2 separate regions of the Homo sapiens genome follow, and region 1 is linked to region 2. The links are contacts of gene promoters, found by promoter capture Hi-C in blood cells and fetal thymus (Javierre and others, 2016). All regions are on one chromosome and are shown on one strand. Each heading gives the region's core, a stretch centred on a gene start or on the middle of the fragment in contact. The rest is flanking DNA. Distances are from core to core; before and after follow the strand shown. Region 1 has its middle 7.8 kb from the start of SCIRT. Region 2 holds the start of DLK2 (delta like non-canonical Notch ligand 2).

The links. The method cuts DNA at HindIII sites, captures the fragments that hold promoters and counts their contacts. A CHiCAGO score of 5 or more calls a contact.
Region 1: a fragment that was not itself captured here is called in contact with the fragment with the promoter of DLK2 in region 2 in 1 of 17 cell types (M0 macrophages); the score reaches 8.4 in M0 macrophages.

Annotation. Positions count from the first base shown.
Region 1 is chr6:44,080,024-44,084,847 of GRCh38, reverse strand. No RefSeq gene overlaps it. Among named protein-coding and RNA genes, the nearest start is that of SCIRT, 7.8 kb to the right of the region's middle. The HindIII fragment of the contact is 475 bases long and covers 3,159-3,633 here.
Region 2 is chr6:43,453,641-43,458,724 of GRCh38, reverse strand. It overlaps DLK2 (delta like non-canonical Notch ligand 2), which reads left to right and starts at 3,177. Exons shown (of 6, transcript NM_023932.4): 1 at 3,177-3,330; 2 at 3,845-3,975; 3 at 4,251-4,314. The coding sequence starts at 3,900. RefSeq lists enhancers at 1,679-2,520, 4,149-4,198 and silencers at 3,119-3,358, 3,459-3,508, 3,539-3,618. The HindIII fragment of the contact is 6,033 bases long and covers 1-4,566 here.

The sequences.
Region 1 (4,824 bases), core at 2,147-4,646, 630 kb before region 2:
GGATGGCACAGGGGAGGCCCTTCTCACTGTCTCTGCCCTTTTGGTAAATGCCACGTGTCTGGGACAGGGTACAGCTTGCAACAGGAACTTGCTCTTAGCATAGGGCTCAGGCATGGGGCAGGGATAGGCCAGGGCAGGATGGCTATGCCCCAGGGCCCTGTGCCTACTCCTGGGGCCCTTGCCCTGGCAGGTCTCAGCCCAGCATGGTCAGGATTCCTTCATTCCACGCACAAAAGCACTGGGCTGGGTCATGGTGTTGGATCTGAGGCCTCAAACTTGACTAGGACCCTGTCTCTGGCCTCAGAACCTTGAAGCTCAGCATGGGGAAATAACAGGTCCACGAACCAGGGTGGGGGCCAAGTCAAAGCCTCAAAAGAGGCCCCAGGCCCTGGCAGCTGGTCTGGCACGTCCCGACATGGCCAGCCCGAAGGGTATGAGCCTGTCCTGGCAGAATGCAGCTTGGCCATCTGGCAGGACAGCCATCACCGGTCAGCGTAGGCTTTCCAGAGGAGGTGTCTTCGGTCTGGGCTTTAGAGGAAGCACGCGAGTTCTCCAGGCCTCAGCAAGGTCTTAGTCAAAGCCTTGGATGGGAACAGGAGCAGAGTCTTGCATCTCTATTCCCAGGGAATGTGGTTTCTAGGTCTTTGGCCCCTGGCTTCTCTTTCTGAGCAGGGGCAGGGAAAAGGAAGTTGACTAGGGCTTAGCAGGCCTACCTCTATCCTCACTCTCTGAGTTACCGTGGGCAAGTCTCTTCTCTGTGGCCCTTGGCCCCCTCATCTGAATGATGCAGGCATGGGGTGGAGAAAAGCTCCCCAGGACCCTCACAATTTCCCTGGAAAGACCCCAGCAGGGCAGCAGTGGCTGTCTTTACCTCTTCACCCTGTCATACCCTTCAAAGACAAGAGTGACAAGGACAGAGGCTGCCCTGGTCCCTGGCCCCAGCCCCTCTGCTGCCTCTCACCCATGTGGACCCCCTTTCTAACAGCCCACAGGGTAGGCTGTGGCTCACTTCTCAGGGTTTTCTCTCAGAGCCTCTGTACTTTCCAAAGAACAGCTACCGTGAATTGAGCAGGCTCTGTGTGCCGGACACAACGCTTAGCATTTTACACCGAGGACCTCGTTTTCTTCTCACAATCTGTGAGCTGGGTGCTATTAGTATGCCCATTTTGCAGATGACATGGAGGGGCTCAGAGAGGGTAAGCCACCTGCCCAACGTCACCCGGCTTATAAGTGGCAGGGCCAGGATCCAAACCCAGTGCTGCCTGCTCTAGAGCCCATTTCCTAATCTCTTCCCAGGTCACACGGGTCTTCTCTTTCTTAAATTCCAACTACCCAGTTAGCACTCCTCGGCCAAGCCCTCTCCATGCATCTCTATTACCTCTACCCTTCCCAGATTCACCCCCTTTCCTGCTGGAGCCCTGCTGGCCCCACCTCAGCCTCTGCTTGTTTCTCTGCATCTCCTCAGAGTATGCCCACTCTCCCCAGGACTCCAGCAGGGGCTGGGTGCCCACAGGAAGCTGGGGGGCTCCCTGAGGCTTCTCATTAAACCCTACCTTGCATGGACACTGACTCCGCAGAGGGTTTGGGTGGGGTCTCACATCCCTCACATCCCGGAGAGTTATCATCCTTCCTGAGGTTGAACAGGGTCAGCTATGGAGAAAGTCACCTTCTAGAGCCCAGCAGGCCTGAGGTTCTGGGCCCTGGCAGCTGGTCTGGCACGTGCCTGACATGGCCAGCCTGAAGGGTACGTGTCTGTCCTGCTGGAAGCTGCTGGGTTATCAGAGGGGAATGAAGGGGGTGGGACACATCTCCTGGGACGTGCAGGGACTCATGCATGCATGTGTGTGCGTGCGTGTGTGTCTGCATGTGCAGCTGTGCCAGCCAAGGGCATTGTGAGCCTGGCCCCGAGGAGGGGTGGGGGGTTCTGTGGGCAACACTTGACACCTGTGCATTTAGCAAAATCAGCACAGCACTGAGACCAGCAGGCCTCTGATCCATCTTCACTGTTATTATTTTTATAATTAGGGGCCAAAATCAAATTTTCATTCCCCCGGGGGAAATCCTGTTTCCACATGAAACCCAAGCTGGTGGAGGGCTGGGAGTGGGTGTGTAAAATGAATCTGGGGCTGGGAGCTTAGCTGCCTGGGCCAAGTCCTGGCCCTACCTTTCTTCCAGCTGCAAGACCATTTCACCTGCTCAGCCTCAGCTTCCCATCTGCCAGTGAGGGACAACCTGTCTGGAATGGTGGCTGAGTCTGAAATGAACATCACCTGGTGATGTGCAAGCCAGGTGAGAATGCCACCGTGCAACATAAAAGTGGGTGGCCGTTGCTGATCAGCACCTTTTACTTCCACTTAGCACCATGTTAGGCCCAGGAGAGGAAATGGATGGACCCTTGACTCTATTTGGTAAGGATTTAGTCTGTGCCTTGAGAATGGATTGGGTTGCCTGGGCTGCGGAGATGTAGAAGATAGTTGGGCAAGGTTCATTGGATGGATGACTGAATGACTAAATATATGAAGAGATGCCTGTTTCTGCAGTGTTGAGAAGTTCAGTGCCTCCCAACTGGGAGGCACGAGGGACTGGACCAGATGACCTTAAATTTTTTTTTTTTAATATTAAAAAAATACACAGAGAGACAAGGTTTTGCTATGTTGCCCAGGCTGGTCTTCGACTCCTGGCCTTGAGCAATCCTCCAGCCTCAGTTTCACCAAAGTGTTGAGACGACAGGTGTGAGCCACCATGCTCATCCCAGATGACATTTGAAGCGGCTTTCCACTGAAGGTCCTTCCCAGGTTCTGTGACTTGAGCTGAGTTCTGCCCCCTTTCCAAGAGCCCCTGCTTATCCCCAGGCCTCCCTGTGATTGGTGCTGGGTTGGGCACAGGACCTTTTTGTCCCACATGGTCCTGCCCACAACGGTTCCCAGGTTAAGGTATGGGGAGAGCCCATGGCCAGGAGAACTGAGGCCCATGCGGGACCTACATGATGAGTCAGAGTGAGGCTGGGGGAGAGGACAGCCTTCGAGAGCCAAGGCTGTGTTGTGGGAGGGAAGTATTGCCAGCTTTTTGGGGGTTAGCCGGGAAGGCTTCCTGGAATTGGCGTTGATTCTCAACGTGGGAGCCACTAGGTTGGCCCCTAGTCCCAGCCGTCACAAGCTTGTGTGGACTAGTATGCATCTGCCTTCTGCTTACCTTGCCATGTCTAGCCCATGACCCTGGAGGGCAAGAGGGAGGGGTGTCCTGCTGCGGGGCAGAGGGATTCTGGCCTAGGTGTGTGTGGGAACTCCTGAGGCTGCAGGCTTCAGTTTTTGCCGGCTCACTGAAGCAGTCTCTGGGGAAGCCGGGGCTTCTGGGAGTGGTTCTGGTGCTGCGTGGTCTTGGCTAGTTTTCATCTCTTGGAATATTTCCTCCCCTGCAAAATGAGTGGCTGGCAAAGGTGATCATCCAAATCCCCCTGCACTGGGATTCATGGCAGGAGTCTGCGGGGGGACACCTGGACAACCCAGGATGAGACCCTGTGCCCTGGGGTGAGCTGGATGACAGGCTCAGGGAGTCATGGGGGCAGGGGGGTTCTCTCTGTGCAGCTGCCTCCTGGAGGGCCTTTTGGGGGCTAAAAGTACCACCCTGCAAGCTTCCCTCCCTGGCTTCTGCCCCCCTCCCCTGCCCCATTTTGTCCCCTTTGTTACATTCCACAGTGGAAAGCGATCCCTCTCTCAAGGCCTGAGGATTACAGTCAGGAGAAAAGCCTGGGTCGCCCTGGGAACACTCACGTAGCCTTTTCCCACCGGTGCCCTCCTCCTCCTGACAAAGGCTGGGGTAGGGGGATGATCCTGATGCACCCCAGCCTGAGGGAGCAGTAGGGTCTCTGGGGTTGGGGGGCTGGTCAGCCTTTCCCTCCCTCCCTGGGGTTCAGCAACCCCAGGGAGGGAGTGAACTGTGTTGAGAAGCCCCCAGTGGGCCCTCTCAGGATGCAATTGGGGCCTAGGTCCTGGGTTTCCATGTGCCTGGGCTCCCCCTGCCCCCTCACTTCTGCCCTGAACCCTCCCGCAGGCTGCAGTGCCACTCCCCATCCCTACTAAGCTGGGGATTTCCGCAGGCTGAGCCAACCGCCTGACCCTAATTATGGCGCCTTCATCCTGTTGAGGTTAAGCTCCCTATGACTTTCTCTCCCCCCACCCCAGAGGCCAGGCTGGGGGTCAGAGACTCAAGAGTCTCAAGCCTACTGTGCCCCCTCTGGAAAGGGTTGATGGGCCTGTGTCCCCTTGGGTGGTTGGGAGGCAGCTTCTTGTGGGTCTGGGTAGACAAGCTAAGATAGTTTCTCTGGGCCGGGTGCGGTGGCTCACGCCTGTAATCCCAGCACTTTGGAAGGCTGAGGCAGGCGGATCATGAGGTCAAGAGATTGAGACCATCCTGGCTAACACGGTGAGACCCCGCCTCTACTAAAAAAAAACAAAAAAAATTAGCCACGTGTGGTGGCAGGCACCTGTAGTCTCAGCTACTCAGGAGGCTGAGGGAGGAGAATGGCGTGAACCCGGGAGGCGGAGCTTGCAGTGAGCTGAGATTGCGCTACTGCACTCCAGCCTGGGCAACAGAGCGAGACTCCGTCTCAAAAAAAAAAAAAAGTTTATCTGGAGAGCCCTTAGGACAGAGGGGAGCCCTGGGGAGCTGACCTCTAGAGGGCTGGGAAGTCTGAAGATGGGGAACTCCTAGAGGACCCATTCTCAACCCTGGCTGCCTATAGAATCACCTAGAAATATTTTCTTAAAATTACCTTTGTCTTAGCCAACCCCTACCAATTTTGATTTCCTTAGTCAGGGCTGGGCA
Region 2 (5,084 bases), core at 1,928-4,427:
TGGGACTACAGGCGCCTGCCACCACACCCAGCTAATTTTTTGTATTTTTAGTAGAGACGGGGCTTCACCGTGTTAGCCAGGATGGTCTCGATCTCCTGACCTCATGATCCTCTCACCTCAGCCTCCCAAAGTGTTGGGATTACAGGCGTGAGCCACCGCACCTGGCCTTTTTCTTTTTACTTTATTCTAAAAAAATGTTAGGCTGGGCACGGTGACTCATGCCTGTAACCCTAGCACTTTGGGAGGCCAAGGCCGGTGGACCACTTGGGGTCACTTCGAGACTAGCCGGGCCAACATGGCGAAACCCCGTCTCTACTGAAAATGCAAAAATTAACTGGGCAGGCCGAGGGCAGTGGCTCACGCCTGTGATCCCAGCACTTTGGGAGGCCAAGCGGGCAGATGACCTGAGGTCAGGAGTTGTAAACCAGCCTGGCCAACATGGCGAAACCCTGTCTCCACTACAAATACAAAAATTAGCCTGGCTTGGTGGGGGCGCGCCTGTAATCCCAGCTACTCGGGAGGCTGAGGCAGAAGAATTGCTTGAACCCGGGAGGCGGAGGTTGCAGTGAGCCAAGATGGAGCCATTGCACTTCAGCCTGGGTGACAGAGCGAGACCCTGTCTCAAAAAAAAAAAAAAAAAAAAAGAGTTAATTAAACAAACAGAATTTTAAAAAAATTTATTGAATACCTACTATGCCAGGCATTGTTTTAGACACTGGGGATGCTGTGATGAGCAAGAAAACATCCCAGACCTCTGGAGTTTGCTTTGTAGTGGGGAGATGGTCAATAAACAATAAATATTTAATATAATGTCAGATAATGATATCTGACAGAGAAAAGCACTGAAAGTCTCGAGAAAAAAAAATTAGCTGGGCGTGGTGGCGCTGTGCCTGCAATTCCAGCTATACTGGAGGCTGAGACGAGGTTGTACTGAGCTGAGGTTGCACTACTGCACTCCAGCCTGGGCGACAGAGTGATAATCTCAAGGAAAAACAAACAAACAACAACAAAAAACAAGTTATAGATGTTCATTGTTTAAAAAAAAAAAAAAAGGGGCGGGCGCGGTGGCTCACGCCTGTAATCCCAGCACTTTGGGAGGTCGAGGCGGGCGGATCACGAGGTCAGGAAATCAAGACCATCCTGGCTACCATGGTGAAACCCCGTCTTTACTAAAAATACAAAAAAAAATTAGCCGGGCGGGGTGGTGGGCGCCTGTAGTCCCAGCTACTTGGGACGTTGAGGCAGGAGAATGGCGTGAACCTGGGAGGCGGAGCTTGCAGAGAGCCGAGATAGCGCCACTGCACTCCAGCTTGGGCCACAAAGCGAGACTCCGTCTCAAAAAAAAAAAAAAAAAAAAAAAAAAAAGTGTTAATGCTGAAAAGTATTAATAAGAAAAAAAAAAAAACCTCTATAATTCGATCATCCAGAGAAAAGCACTGCCAATGTCAAAGTACGTTCTTCTTTGTTTCCGGCTTCCCCCCACCGCACTTTACATATTCTTAGCTTTTTTGGACATCTTTAGACGTCAAAAAAAAAAAAAAGTATTTTTAACAGTCACATAGTGTTGATGTGCCATAATTTATTTGCCTACAGTAATTTTTGAATTATAGGTTGTTTGCAATTTTTCACCAAAAAAAAAAATGTGTTTAAACAAAATGAATGGTACAGCCATGTCATTACTCAAATTCAGAGAGCTCTTCAGGGAAGAGGCGATCACAGCTGAGAGGAGGCCAGCTAGGGAGCTGAGTGGGTGTAAGTGTTATATCCAATGGAGACTGCAGGAAAAATGAGCCCTGGGGCTCTGTGCCTGTGGAGGTGGCTGTGTGAAGGTGGGAAGCTGCTCTGCCCCGACTAGCGACTGCTCCTTCCGATGTTTTGAATTTAAAGATGGTGAAATCTCAATCTGAAGGACTAGAGATGGGCGCTAGCGTTCCTGACCTCTGCCCTGTTGTCCTGCACAAACTAGAAATTATGTTCTGGGTCCTTGTCTTTTTTTGGGGGGGGGCGGGGGTCGGAGTTTTGCTCTGTCCCCCAAGCTGGAGTGCAGTGGCGCGATCTTGGCTAACTGCAACGTCTGCCTCCCGGGTTTTCAAGCGATTTTCCTGCCTCAGCCTTCCGAGTAGCTGGGATTACAGGCGCGCACCACCACGCCTGGCTAATTTCTGTATTTTTAATAGAGACGGGTTTCACCATGTTGGCCAGGCTGGTCTCGAACTCCTGACCTCAGGTGATCCGCCCGCCTCAGCCTCCCAAAGTGCTGGAATTATAGGCGTGAGCCCACCGAGCTTGGCTGGGTCCTTGTCTTGAAATGTGTCTCTGAGCCATTAGCCAGAAGGGGGCAAAGAGGCCTGGAGGGCAGCTTTCCCCCACTCCCCCTCCGTTACTCTCTGAATCTGAGCTCCAGGTTTGGGCAGTTGAGGTTTAGCCTGAGGCCAAGGACGAACGTGATGGGGTACAGGAGAAGACTTGGCGGTGGAGGGGGTTTTGTGTGCACATTTACAGAGTCAGGGGCATTCCCAGTCCAGAAAGGATTCTCAGAGGCAGTCACAAAAAGGAATGGGGTGGAAGGGCTGAGACTTGAGGGAGGGAAGGGTGGTGGGGGTAGGGCCGGGGTGTGGTTGGGTGGATCGGGTTGATATTTATATAGGGATAGGTTGATCTTGGAAGGCTGGAGACGGCAACGTGGACAGGAAGAAGCGGAGGGCGAGGAGGAGCAGAGGAGCACACAGATGAAGCAGGTGATGAAGGCTTTACAAGCGGGGAGGCGTGGGCTGGTGACAGGCGGAGGGCGGGGAGCGATTGCCTGCGTGTGCATAGATCTATATGAGAAGCGTGATGAGCGGCGGACAAGCGAAGGCAGGGCTGGGGCGTGGGCCGCGGAGCGCTGGTCGGGAAAGTGGGCATGGGAGATGAGAGAATAACGGGGTTGCGCTCCTTTGGCTTAATAGTTTGCTCCCATTGAGACTCCTAAGATTTCCTCCTCTCTTGGAAGGAAGCTGGGTTCGGGGCGTTGGGTAGCCGCGGAGGGCCGGGGCCCCGGGGCGCGCCGGGTGCTAGGTGTGCGCCGTGCGTCGCGGGGGGGGGGATGGGGGTGGGGGCGGGCTCCGCCCCTGGCAGGGGGCCTGAGCGCGCGCGAGGAGCAGCCGCTGCCGCCGCTCGGGGTCGCCTGGAGCCCCAGATTCCCGAGCGCTCGGCTCGCATGGCAGCCGCTTCGGCGCCCGGCCCCGCGGCCAGCTAGGGGCGGCCCCGCGCTCCCTCACGGCCCCTCGGCGGCGCCCGTCGGATCCGGCCTCTCTCTGCGCCCCGGGGCGCGCCACCTCCCCGCCGGAGGTGAGGACTGCGGGGACAGGGCGCGGTGGGGATTCCAGGCCCCGCGCCGCCGCCGAACCCAGCGCGGCGGAGATAGAAAGGGGACGTGGGAGAGAGTGGTGGTGGCGGGGGGGGGGGCTGTCGGAGCTGTGGGGCGGAGACTGCTCGCTGCCGGGAACCGTCCTTCCCTCCGGCCCCCGCGTCCCCTCCGTGCTCGAGGCCGCCTCTCGGCGCTGTCCCCATCCCGCGGACCCCTCCGTCCTGACTACGATCCCAACCCCAGCCATTCCCGCGCCTGGCCTCGCTCCGCGATGCCCATCTTTCCCCTCCTTGCAGACCCCGCTCCCGGGTTCCTGTCTTCGCTCTCCTCGCTCTCTTCGCCTGCTCAACCCTTCCCTGCCCCCATCCTCCCGCTACCCCCATCCCCTTCTTCTGTCCCGGCGCCCCTCTCCCTCGTCGGCTCCTGTCACTTGGAACCCGTATCCGTGCCGCTATCTCCGCGTCCGGCCGCCTCCCAACCGGTGCCGTCCCACAGGTGTCCACGCGTCCGGCCGTCCATCCGTCCGTCCCTCCTGGGGCCGGCGCTGACCATGCCCAGCGGCTGCCGCTGCCTGCATCTCGTGTGCCTGTTGTGCATTCTGGGGGCTCCCGGTCAGCCTGTCCGAGGTGAGCGCGCCCGCTGGGCTCCAGTCGCGGCCCTGTCCAGCCGTCCTCGCTTGCACGTTGACCTCTGCCGGCCGGAGGCGGCACTGCAGTCGCTCCGACCCGCGGGGCAAGCAAGACCGAGGTTGCCTTTTTGGAATGGGATGAGTTTCTGTGTTATGTCCTGCCCTAGGGTTGAGTCCGCTCAGTTACTGGAACCCCAATCCTCTCCTGAGTCCCGCATCCCAGCGAGCTGTGCCCTGACTCAGACTCACCCCTCCCACATCAATCTCTTGCAGCCGATGACTGCAGCTCCCACTGTGACCTGGCCCACGGCTGCTGTGCACCTGACGGCTCCTGCAGGTACCTGTCCTGAGCACGTGCCCCCAAACCCTTTGGTACCCATTTCTAAGCCCTTCACGTGCACAACAGTGTCTAGGGGCTTCAGACTCTACTCTTCATGCCTCATCACTCCTATGGCTGACTGGCCAGTCCCCCTTTCCCCTTTACCTCACCTCTCTTGCTTCTTCTAGTTTTTATCTCCCCACTTCTTTAATCTCCCAAGTCTGATCCAGGGATTGTCTGAACTCCTGACAGGGAGAGAGACCTAAAGCTTGAGAGAGCTTGGGGATTGGGTGCCATGAGGAAATGGAAAGATAAAGGAAAAAGGGAAAGAGAAATGGTTTAGCCTGGAAAAGAAATGCTGCAGGGAGAGTTGCTGGGGAGAAACACTTACAATGAAAGAGGATCTTTCTTGATGAGTTTGAGTAGTTGACTCACTGGGAGATTGGGCAAATTCTGTAGCAGGAGGAAAGTGGACATAAGGAAATGAGTTGATGAGGCAGGTAGTTCAATTGGCTGGGGGTCTTTGAGACTCTTCACCCCTGGAGGGCTTTTAAAATATGGGTCAAGTGTTTGCCCTGGAATCATGGTGGGAGGATAGTCCTGATGACCTTTTTTGTTTTTATTTTTATTTTTTGTTTTTGAGACAGAGTCTCGCTTTGTTGCCAAGGCTGGAGTGCAGTGGCGCGATCTCAGCTCACTGCAGCCTCTGCCTCTTGTGTTCAAGTTCCCCTGCCTCAGCCTCCTCAATAATGGATTACAGATGCACACCACCATGCCCGGGTAATTTT